Regions from separate parts of the Homo sapiens genome. Here region 2 is linked to region 1. Evidence: promoter capture Hi-C in human tissues and cell types (Jung and others, 2019). All regions are on one chromosome and are shown on one strand. The core of a region is centred on a gene start or on the middle of the fragment in contact, and the rest is flanking DNA. Distances in the headings are between cores, read along the strand shown.

Region 1 (5,948 bases), core at 2,655-5,154:
ATAAAGGGAATCTAGATGCATCTAGATTCCAGGCACTGTGCTAGGTGCCAGGCAAACACATGTGAATGAAACACAGTCCTTCAACTTCTATGAGCTCAGCAGAATGTGTGAATGGGAGGCTCCGGTGACTACAGTAATAGGCTCTGTGCCAAGTGGCAAAGGAACCACATGGAGACTCGCGGCTGGGTTTGGGAGCAGAAGAGTGGGCAAACCGTAAAGGAGGGTGAATTTAAGATTTTAAAAAAGCCATAGTCCAAATTCTAAAATAGTAAAAGCTGAAAAATAGGCATATTCTATGACCCAGCAAATCTACTCCTGAGTATATATTCAACAGAAATATGGGCACCAAGAAGAACATGCAGGAATATTCATGACAACACTATTCATAAGATCCCAAATGAGAAACCGCCCAAATGTCCATCAACAGGGAAATGGATAAGTAGGTTGTGGAATATTCTTACAATGGAATGAATGATCTATAACTACACACAATGTGGGTGAACCTCAAATACGTAATTCGAGCAAAACACAGACACAGAAGATTATATTCTATATAATTCTATGTATATGAAATACAAAACCAGGCAAAACTAATCTATGGCATGGGACTCAGAAAAGTGGTCAGCATAGGGGAGGGAATTGTGGCGTGAAGAGGCCATGAGGAGCTTGGAGTGTGCTGTCATGCTCAGTTTCCTAATCTAGGTGCAGGTTACAATGGTGTATTTGGTTTGTAAAAATACATAATGCTGGGCCGGGTGTGGTGGCTCATGCCTGTAATCCCAGCACTTTGGGAGGCCGAGGCGGGTGGATCACGAGATCAGGAGATCCAGACCATCCTGGCTAACACGGTGAAACCCCATCTCTACTAAAAATACAAAAAATTGGCCGAGTGTGGTAGCCCATGCCTGTGGTCTCAGCTACTCGGGAGGCTGAGGCAGGAGAATCGCTTGAACCTGGAAGCCGGGGGTTGCAGTGAGCCGAGATGGCGCCACCGCACTCCAGCCTGGGTGACAGAGTGAGACTCCATCTAAAAAAAAAAAAAAACCATAATGCTGGACATTGCAAATATGTGCACCTTTGTGTGGATCTCAGACTTGAATAAAAAGAAAAAATTAAGTATGTCTATTGTCTTAGTCCATTCAGGTTGCTATAATAAAATATCATAAACTGGGTGGCTTATAAACACCACACATTTATTTCTCACTGTTCTGGAGGCTGGCAAGTCCAAGATCAAGGTGCCAGCAGATTGGGTGTCTGGTGAGAACCCACTTTGTGGTTCATAGATGGCCATCTTTCACTGTGTGCCCACATGGCAGAAGGGACAAGGGAGTACTCTCAGGCCTCTATTATAAGGGCACTAATCCCAATCATAAGGGCTTCACCCATATGACCTAATCACCTCCCAAAGATCCACCTCCATTACCATTACCTCGGGGGTGAGAATTTCAACATATGAGTTGTTGAGGGACACAAGCATTCAGACTGTAACAGCTGTTTAGGTAGCTACACAGCTAAATAAGTATTATTTTCCAAATCACATTTCAGCGATTTCTCTACCATTAGGCCATGGGCCAGCAATGGAACCTGGCTTATCCTTCTTGTGTTCTTCTTTTCCTGGCACAAATATGGTTGGTAATCTTGCCAAACAGTAATCTCCCTGGTATAGTTAATTTGGCCTGCTAGGTTATATCCAAACGATCACTGTATTCACCTATAAATGCTCTCAAACTGGTCCAAGGTCTAATCAAAGCTGGAAATTGATCAAATAATGACCCATTCATGCATTCTAGAATTCAGCCATTCCCTGTTGCGTTTTTAGAAACTGGCATAATTTTCTATTATTTACGCGATCTAGAGAACTATGTCATAGACCCCTGCATCATAGAACACCCAGATCTGTGGTCTCCATCTCATTCTTCCTGCTTTCTCAAAGATGATCTACACACAGTTCTATTTCCCAGACTATATAATATAATCCACTTTATGTAACATAGTGTAATTCACTTGGCCCTGGTCTCTCAGTTCTTTTGAAGAAATGAATGTTCTCACACTAATTCCTTGGTCTGTTTGTCGATCTTTACAGGCAGGGAGGGAGGATGCGAGGCAGCATTGGGTCGGCTCCACATTCTCCACATCTGCTTATTGTTTTCTTGCCTTGTTTGCAGCTTCCAGAGCTCCTCCCTGCTTCTGTAGCAATTTCAGTCTTCCCCATTCCTCTGTGCCTTTGTAAACAGCCTTTTGTTCACTAACAAGAGGAATCTGCTGCCACGTCAGCTCTAAACCAACCTCCCACCATTCTCTGGGTAAAGTCCTGCTTAGAAAGGGAATAGGAAGAAGAGGGGTGGAGGGGGTTGGAGATGATTGTGTCTAGTGGGAACAGGCAGGGGGATAGTGCACAGAGTTCACAATGGGACAACGAGCCTGCCGAGGCTGCACTGCCGGCCTGGCTGGGTGACCTTGAGCCTATCTGGGCCTGTGAGCTCACCATGCAAAGGAGCTGGACCACAGAATTCTGAGTCCTTTCTAGCTCTAAACACTGTGGCCCTAAGTATCTATATGTGAAACAAAATTGTCCTGACATTTGTCTCTGGGTACTGAACTATTAGGAGATTTTGATTTTTTCATCTCCATTTTGCAAACAGTCTGTACTAAGATTACACTACTGTGTTTCTGTTTTGTGTGTATTCAGAAGCACAAAAAGTCTGTGGTTCTAGAAAGGAAATAGAAAAGTTCTTAAAAAAAAAAAAGTGGGGAAGTGAAACAAATGTTAAAGTCAGAGGAGAAAGAAAGGCCCAACCGGAGGCCCCAAATCCACCCAGAGCCCAGAAGCCCGGGTTTCCCACCGACCGGCTGCGGTCTTTGTCAGCTCTCTGGCGCTATCTGCTGTCCTTCTCGATAACAACCGTTTAATTTGGTTTGCAAAATTGCTCTGACGCAAATCCACCGTGAACACTGACGGGGTCACATTCAGCATAAAAATCGCATTCTGTTTACAGGAAAATCTGGCCCCATACTTGCTCCCATATTCACTTTTGACTTTGCCTTGCAGTACTAACTGTAACAGGGACACCTGAGCAAGTCCCTTCTGTATAAGGCCCAAAATGGTCACCCAATACCAATGAGTCTCTTGCTTTGGAAAGCCCAGGAATGCACCTCCAGCCCCTTCTGCGCAGCGCTCGGACACCATGTAGAGGAGAAGGCACTCTGCAGAACTCGCCCTCAGCCCGCACCACCTGTCCAGGGGACTGGCTGCGTGTCAATGTGTCTCTGCTCCCGGGGTTCCCGCAGATCTTTAACTTATTGGCCTTTGGGCTAATTCAGTCCTTCAAGCATTCCTCGCCCAACATGCCAGGAAGTCTTCTCACGTGTCTTCCACCCCATACCTACCAGTTCTGTTTTCCCACTACCCGATGAAAGTGTAACCGCCCCCCGGCGCCCCCCCCCCCCACCACCACACACACACCCTGTTGGTCCCATCCTCAGGGCGTGGTGGTCCAGGTGAACGCTTGCCCTCTTTTTGAGCTGAACCTCCCCACAGAGGCTGTCAGCAAAGACTGCTTTGCTGTCCAAGGCCGGCCTTTAGGTACAGGACACTATGCATGTCCAGCGAGGCTTGTTGAAGCCACATCTGTCATAGATATTGATGGGAAAAGCATTTTCCTTCTAACACATCTCATTCCAATTCTAAAAGGCACCTCTGAAGCCTTGCTGAACTTCATCAAGATTTTCACGTGGTTTCCTTAGTAAAGTGTGATGAGAAGGTCCATCCTTCTCAGGATGAAGGAGTGGTCCAGGAAGCCCTGATTGGTCTGCCGGGGAGGGAAGGGCTGCCTTATTTGGAGACCTGCAGGAATGCCACCTCCCCCGGCAGCTCCTATATAGCTGGGCGGACCTGGCTGCCAAGAGGGTGTGCTGGGGGACTGTGCAGCTCGAGGCTCCAGAGGCACACTCCAGAGAGAGCCAAGGTACGTGGGGGGCCACTTCTGTGGTCAGGACTGCTGGTTTCTTATCAAGGCTCGATCCCAGATTGAAAATCATGCAATGATTTCTTTACTCCCACACCTGGGGATGGGTCCCAAGTTCAGGGTAGACTTGCGAGGATACCCAGTCATCACTGGGCTTGCCTTTCTCTAAGTTGGTGCTATAATAAAATGCTACTTTAGGGTTTGTGGGTTGGGATTTTGTTTTGCCTTTAAGCTTCTGCCTATGAAAACTAATCTCTTTCTCAAGAATGCTGTGCTTTTATTTTTTTTATTTGACTCACCTGAAATGATCTATTATGCCATTAATCTTATTTAAGATTTCTCCTTAAAAAAGGAATGATGTGGAGTATGGCCCTATTTAGGAGACTAATGAATATTTGCTTCATGCTTGGATCTCTTTGGAGAAAGTCAGTCTGAGTTCACTGTGCTCAGGAGGCAGAGAGAGTGGGGTGAGGGGGTCCAGATGCTCATAGCCACCCTGGGACAAAGACGAGGCGATGTCTACAAGCAAGGAAAGGTCAGTGAGGCCTCTTTGCAGGCTTCTAGAGATGACTGGATGTGCTTCTAGAGATCACTTCAGCTGTGTTTTGCCTTTTTTTTTTAATATAAGGAGCAATGTGGCATCAGAGTTGAACATTTTATCAGAGGAACATTAGCCACTTTTAGGGAAGCTGCAGCAGGGTGGTGGAGGGTGTGTGAGGGGCGAAACAAGCTCCCTGTCAGCCTCCTCCAGCTCTGGGGCCCCATGGCCTCACAGTAAGTCTTTGCCTAGGAGACAGCTTAGGCAAGCTCCGGTATGGGAACTCCTTCCATTTCCCTAATCCACACAGGCAAAGACCCAGGTGCTAGAATGCCCTGACAGTCGGCCTTGGGAAGTGGATTTCCTTGATGGCTATTGTAGATTCAGGAGCCGAATGTGACAGGCAACCTTAAGGTGTGGGGTGAGGGGCTTTTCCATGACATCAGTGGCAGCCCTTCGGATGTCCCAGGGCCACCTTGACCCGGGACCCTCCTGGTGTTCCCCCAGGCCCTCCTGTCTTCCCTTTCATCTCGTTTTCTCCGAAATTCCTCAAGGGCCCTGCCCTTTGCCCTTTGCCCAGCTCAGGGGGCATCATACCCAGTGAGTGAAAAGCACAGTGTGTGAGCACTGTCTTCTCCTGAAACCCAGATGGGCAGTGGGGCATGGCTAGTGGACACATGCAGTGCAGCATTAGACAGAGCCCAGTGCAGGTCTGCCACCTCCCCGCTGTGCAGCCTTGGGCAAATTACTTAACTTCTCTGAATCCCAGGACAACATTTATAACATGGGGATAATAATGTACCTACTCTATGTGAGAATTAAGTTAGGCAATGTCAGAGAAGAGCTTAACACGGTGGCAGGCATGAAGAAAGTATGCAATAAAAAGCCAGTAGGATAAGCAGATGGTCACACTGTCCCCCAGGGGTGAGATTGGAAAGGATGCCTGGAGCACACTTGACCCCTGGACATAGGGGAGGCAGGGGTCCCTTTGCTACGTTTCCATCTTTCCCTTCCTTCCTCCTCCTCTCTCTCTCATTACTGCAAAGCCCTTTAGGATCAGCAGCCAGTGAATTCCTCAGAATGGATGGCAGAATGCCCCCAAGACAGTGCCAGCTCAGAGCAATAAAGAACAAAGAGGGGAGATTGAAAGTACAATCTAAAGTCGGCACAGTGGCTCGTGCCTGTAATCTCAGCACTTTGGGAGGCTGAGGTGGGAGGATCACTTGAGCCTGGGCAACATAGTGAGACCCCGTTTCTACAACATGTATTTAAAAATTAGCTGGGTGTGGTAGTGTGTGCCTGTAGTCCCAGCTACTCCGGAGGCTGAGGCAAGAGGATTGCTTGAGCCCAGGAGTTCAGGGCTGCAATGAGCTATGATCATGCCACTGCACTCCAGCCTGGGCAACAGAGTGAGATCCTGTCTCTAAAATATGTGTGTGTGTGTG
Region 2 (5,827 bases), core at 2,896-5,395, 49 kb before region 1:
CATGTACCACCACACCTTCCTAATTTTTTAAATTTTTAGTAGAGAGGGGTTTTGCCATGTTGCCCAGGCTGGTCTGAAACTCCTGACCTCAAGTGACTGCCCACCTCGGCCTCCCAAAGTGCTGGGATTTATAGGCATAAGCGCCTGGCCACAATTTTACATTTCTACACTGTAAAGGTATGTTTGTGCTTGTGTGTGTGTGTGTGTGTGTGTGTGTGTGTGTGTGTGTGTGTCTTAAATGAAATCAAAAGAAAATATCTGTAATGAAAAAGACCAAAATTAATTTCCCACTTATCAAAAAGTTTGCATAAATCAGTAGTGAGAAAAACCACCTTATTAAAAAAATTAGAGAAGTATGTGAACAGACTTATTACAGGGCAAAAAATACAAATGATCAATACACATGAAAAGATGTCCAACCTTCCAATAACATAAATTTGAATCACTAAATATAACTTTTTAATGTATCCAAGTACCAAAATGTAAAAGATTGATAATAAGTTATGTTGGCAACAGCGTGGAGAACACATGTGTTCTGATACCAGGAATGCAAATGGGTGTCCTTTTTTGTTGAGAAATCTGGCAATATCTATGAAAATTTTAAGCATGCCCACTTATGGAATGTGTCTTACAGAAATCACTTGCACAAGGAGGCAAAGATAATGTACAAAGATATTGTATATAGAAGCATAAATTCTTGGTGTTGGAAAGGAACCTGTGGGGTACCCAGTCCAAGCTTTGAGGTCCACTCCAGTGCCAGGATGCCCTGGGCTACATCCCTGACTCTCTCTGCCTGGGTGTCCCTTAGATCTTATATGGTTGGTGACTGTATAATCTAGTAACATATAGGCCTTTCAAACCATGAGCAGAATATCTTCAGGAACTTGTGTGAGCATCAGACACCTACTCTCCTCCGAGTGCCCAATGGTCCTTCACTGGGAGCACTTAAGGCAGCGTTTCTCAAACTTCAATGTACAAACAAATTATCTGAGGCTCTTGCCAAAATGCAAATACTGATTTGGTCTGGGATGGGCCTGAGATTCTGCCTTTCTAACCAGCTCCCAGGTTAGATGATGCGGATGCTGCTGGTCCAGGGACCACAGTCTGAGTAGCAAGGTCATGAGACGTACTCTATTTTCTACCTTTGGTCTTCTTGTTTTCACACCTGGGTTTTCCATCAAGTATGTAGGCATCAGTCCCGTGACTCTCATGTCCTACAGATAGGCCCCATGACTTGGTCATGCCCTTAGCATTGACCTCGTACACTCATGCTCCACTCCACTATTTTCACCATCTGTTCTCCTGTAGAGCAGGGTAGTAGGTGATGGCTGTGGCCACCACAGACTCCTAACTCAGACACCAGACCGTATGTCCTTCCTGCTCAAGGTCATCCCAGCTGCTCCTCAATATGCCAGGCAGACCGCATCTCTGGCACCAGCACTTGTTGCCCCCTGTGCCCAGAATTCCACTCTCCCAGACATCCACGGAGCTTGACTCTCATTTCCTTCTAGTATCTACTCAAATAGGAGAAAGCAGGGCTAGAGATGCAAATTTGGGTGTCACCAGCAAACAGATATTGTTTAAAACCATGAGACCAGAGGAGATCACTCGGAGAGTATAGACAGAGGCAAATGGGAGCCTTGGCTGAAGTCCTGTGGCAGCACCCACGTACAGGATGAGGAGGAGGAAGAGGGGGAGGCAGCAACAAGAGGAGTGCCAGTGGGAGACAAGGGAACCAGGTATGGGGCACTCAAGAAGCCAAGAGAAGAGCATGGCTGGAGAAGGATGGCGTGATCAGCACTCCTGTGTAAAAGCAGCAGCTTGAACACTCATGAAAATACCGTGGGCGGTGAGCACAGGGAGAATGGGGGAGGAGATGCAGCAAGGGCACTTTGGAGAGGTCACTAAGGTCGCTGATCCCTGGAGTCGAATGCTGGGTTGGCAGTGAGGAAGCCAAAGGCCTGCCCTATTTTTACCATTGAATCCCCAAAAGGCTGATTAATTGGTGACACCTGGCCCCTCTGGACATGAAGATGGAGGAAAAGGCTGAAGTAATGAGAACTGGAAAAAAGCTGTTTAAGGAATTGTCAGATCCCCAGATCTCCCCAACTCTGTTTAGCCAGATCACTGACTTTCTGCCCTCCCCTGCAGAAAGCCAGAGATTCATTTCAAGAGGGTGAATACAGGATCTGGTTAGGAGACACTGAACTCAGTGGAAAGCAAGGAGTCACACTGAGAACAGGAGAACTACATGAGTGTGGGCACTGCGGATGCTGGGGCAGCCCTATCCCATCCCCCAGCCTCATTCCTCATGCGGTTCCCAGAACGCCAGCCACCATCCCAACAGGAAGCAGAGAGGTTTCCAGTCAAAGGGCCCAGACAGTTGAAGCTGCCAAGCCCCACCTGTGCACTCGGAGCATCCAATCAGCTGTGAAGGGCTCACCCTTCCACACGAGCAGATTGCCAGATGGCTGAGGAAGAAAGGTACAGGAAAGATAAATCCCAAACCAATACAAAATAATCAACTGGAAGACACTGGAACTATACAAGGAGAAGAACACTTCAAAAAAAATCATGAGGGCCGGGCGCGGTGGCTCACGCCTGTAATCCCAGCACTTTGGGAGGCCGAGGCGGGCGGATCACGAGGTCAGGAGATCGAGACCATCCTGGCTAACACAGTGAAACCCCGTCTCTACTAAAAAATACAAAAAATTAGCCGGGCGTGGTGGCGGGCGCCTGTAGTCCCAGCTACGCGGGAGGCTGAGGCAGGAGAATGGCGTGAACCCGGGAGGCGGAGCTTGCAGTGAGCCGAGATCGCGCCGCTGCACTCCAGCCTGGGCGACAGAGCGAGACTCCGTCTCAAAAAAAAAAAAAAAAAAAAAAAAAAAAAAAAAAAAAAATCATGAACACTTTTACAGCCAAGAAATACTATCCAGGAAATGAGATAATGGAGCAGTGCCTACTAACTCTGAGTTACATTGTATGACACTTAGTTGATGTCTACCAGAGAATTGGGGTTTTTTTTGGTGGGAAGAAATCCCACATGTCAGTGACCAGAGGTGAAGTATTGTATAGTGAGTGTGAGTAGAAAATTTGTTTAAAGTTTGGGTGCTTTTTAAAAAATATTTCTTACAACTATATTTAGATGGTAGAAGAAAACAAATCCAGAAAGATTGCACAGCAGATGTGATATTTGAATGTGGAGCTGGAAGTATACCAAGGATTTCACCCAGGTGGACAAAGATAGGGAGAATATTCAAAGCAGAGACAACAATTGATACAAAAAAAAAAGATGAAAGGGGCCAGGCGTGGTGGCCTGTAATCCCAGCACTTTGGGAGGCTGAGGTGGGCAGATCACCTGAGGTCAGGAGTTTGAGACCAGCCTGGCCAATGTGGTGAAACTCCATCTCTACTAAAAATACAAAAATTAGCCAGGTGTGGTGGCGGGCACCTGTAGCCCTAGCTACTCCTCAGGAGGCTGAGGCATGAGAATTGTTTGAACCTGGGAGGTGAAGGTTGCAGTTAGCTGAGATTGCGCCACTGCACTCCATCCTGGGCCACAGAGCGAGACTCTGTCTCAAAAAAAAAAGATGAAAGGGTAAGCGTGGTATGAGATAGCACATCAACCCAAAATGGATTGGCATTCAACACCAAATAATTGATTTTCACTCATGCATCCTCAGGTTGCCTGGGATTGGGCCAACATAGACTGAGTTTGGCAGGCTTGGATCTCAATTGCAGGTTGGATCCAGGAGTATTTCATCCTCTTTGGACCAACAGCTGTCTAAGGCAGGCTCTTTTCATGATGGAGGCAGAAGAACAAGAAAACAAGCACATTTCAAGCCTCTGGACCCACCGCGTCCACTAACATGCCATTGGCCAGCATAATTTACATGGACAAGCTCAACACTAATGGGTTGGATAAGTATATTCCTCACTCACAAAAGCTTAAACTTTATTCCTGAACAATAAACTCTAGCCAGGTGGGGTGGGGAGCACCTGTAGTTCCAGCTACTCAGGAAACTGAGGCAGAAGGATTGCTGGACCCCAGGAGTTTGAGACCAGCTGGGCAACACAGTGAGACTATATCTCAATAAAGAAATAAATAAATAAAACAATAATAAAAGCCAACTCTTTAAAGTGTGTTTGGGGAATAACATGAACATATGTAACTTCTGTTTTTCAGTTAACTTTCTGTATGCATTTCCCTTATTTCCATCCTTCCTTCCTTCCTCCCTCTCTCTCCCTCTTTCTCTTTCTCCCTTTCTCTCTTTCTCTTTCTCTCTTTCTCTTTCTCCCCTTCCTTCCTTCTCTTTCTTTCTTTCGTTCTTTCTTTCTTTCTTGAGATGGAGTCTCACTCTGTTGCCCAGGCTGGAGCGCAATGGTGCGATCTTGGCTCACTGCAACTTCCGCCTCTCGGGTTCAAGCAATTCTCCCATCTCAGCCTCCCCAGTAGCTGGGATTACAGGCACTCACCACCATGCCCAGCTAATTTTTGTATTTTTAGTAGAGACTGGGTTTCACCACACTGGCCAGGCTGGTCTTGAATTCCTCCCAAAGTGCTGGGATTACAAGCATGAGCCACCATGTCTGGCCCCCTTGATTCTTTTATGAGATGAGCATGTGCAGCTACAAAAGGAAACACAGGAGAGGCTCAGGAAAAAACAAAGTCTCTTGTACTCACAGGTCCCAGAGACCGGAGGCATGGCAAGCCATGAAGGGCCACATGGGAGAGACACCAGAGTGGTCAGGAAGCAAAAGACAGGAGGAGAAAGCCGAGGCTAGAGCCTTCATTGGGGTTTCAGTGGGAAAAGCAGAACAGGGCAGGGTAAACAGTTTAGGACTGGTTCGTTTGCATAATTTGGTTGATCTTTGGCCTATAGTAGTGATCTCTAGTTGCCTAGTACCTGGCCCTGGGATGATTAAGGCAGAGGAATATTGCTTCCTGAGCTGCATGGGCCAGATAGGGAAGGTCTGGTTTAGGACTGGTTTGTTTTCATATCAAAGGCACGTTCCTGGCTGGGTCCTTCGTTATCTCTAAGAATTGGCTGGCCCAGGGGGGAACAGTCTCTCTCCAGCTAAAAAGGTTTTTCAGGATCAAAGTATACAGACAACTTAAAAAAAAACAAGAGTAAAAGTTATTTGACCAACATCAGCCATGTGTGGCTAATGAACACTTAAAATGTGACAGGTGTGATTGAGGAATTAAATTTTAGTTTTATTTAAATGTTTTAATGTAAATTTAAAGAGCACATGTGGCTTATAGCTATGGAACATGCAGCTGTGAACACTATAGTTAAAACTGACATTTTGATCTGAGGATTCCTTTTATTTAATCAGTTCTGAAACTATAGTTTTCTACATTTATATATTTGTTCTATTGTGAATTTTAGGATTTATTTTGATGATGTACTTTTTCTTTGTGAAGTTTAGAAATGACCATGGGGGTCATGTGGGCCAAATTAACTCAATTCCTGGACAAAAACTATTTCCCCGACCACCCCAAGCTTCTTGCCAATGTGCGCCCTTGGGACAAGAAAGGCTAGGAGAAGCTGTGGACAAATTAAGATAAACCTGGCAATATCATTAGACAAATAACCCAAAGTGAATCCCTCTTCTGATGGTCAACATCAGATGGTCACACAGAAATGTTATTTTCCTATGAGTAATTTTGCATTATTGTTACATATGATTTCCACTTACAAATGCCACAAATATTATGCAAGTACCTCTCTACTGGGAAGGAATATAACAATTCTAACAAATAAACATAAAAGCAGTGTGTACATAAGAATGCCTCTATACAATTTTTTGAGCATCAAAATCT

Evidence for each region. Contacts are between HindIII fragments. The study calls those that stand out against the background at their distance.
Region 2: a fragment that was not itself captured here is called in contact with the fragment with the promoter of PRND in region 1 in 3 of the 25 tissues and cell types used here (dorsolateral prefrontal cortex, ovary and spleen).

The regions. Positions count from the first base shown.
Region 1 is chr20:4,718,005-4,723,952 of GRCh38, forward strand. It overlaps PRND (prion like protein doppel), which reads left to right and starts at 3,905. Exons shown (of 2, transcript NM_012409.4): 1 at 3,905-3,965. RefSeq lists an enhancer at 2,608-2,827. The HindIII fragment of the contact is 13,371 bases long and covers 1-5,638 here.
Region 2 is chr20:4,668,880-4,674,706 of GRCh38, forward strand. No RefSeq gene overlaps it. Among named protein-coding and RNA genes, the nearest start is that of PRNP, 15 kb to the right of the region's middle. RefSeq lists a cis regulatory region at 4,586-5,270. The HindIII fragment of the contact is 3,609 bases long and covers 2,342-5,827 here.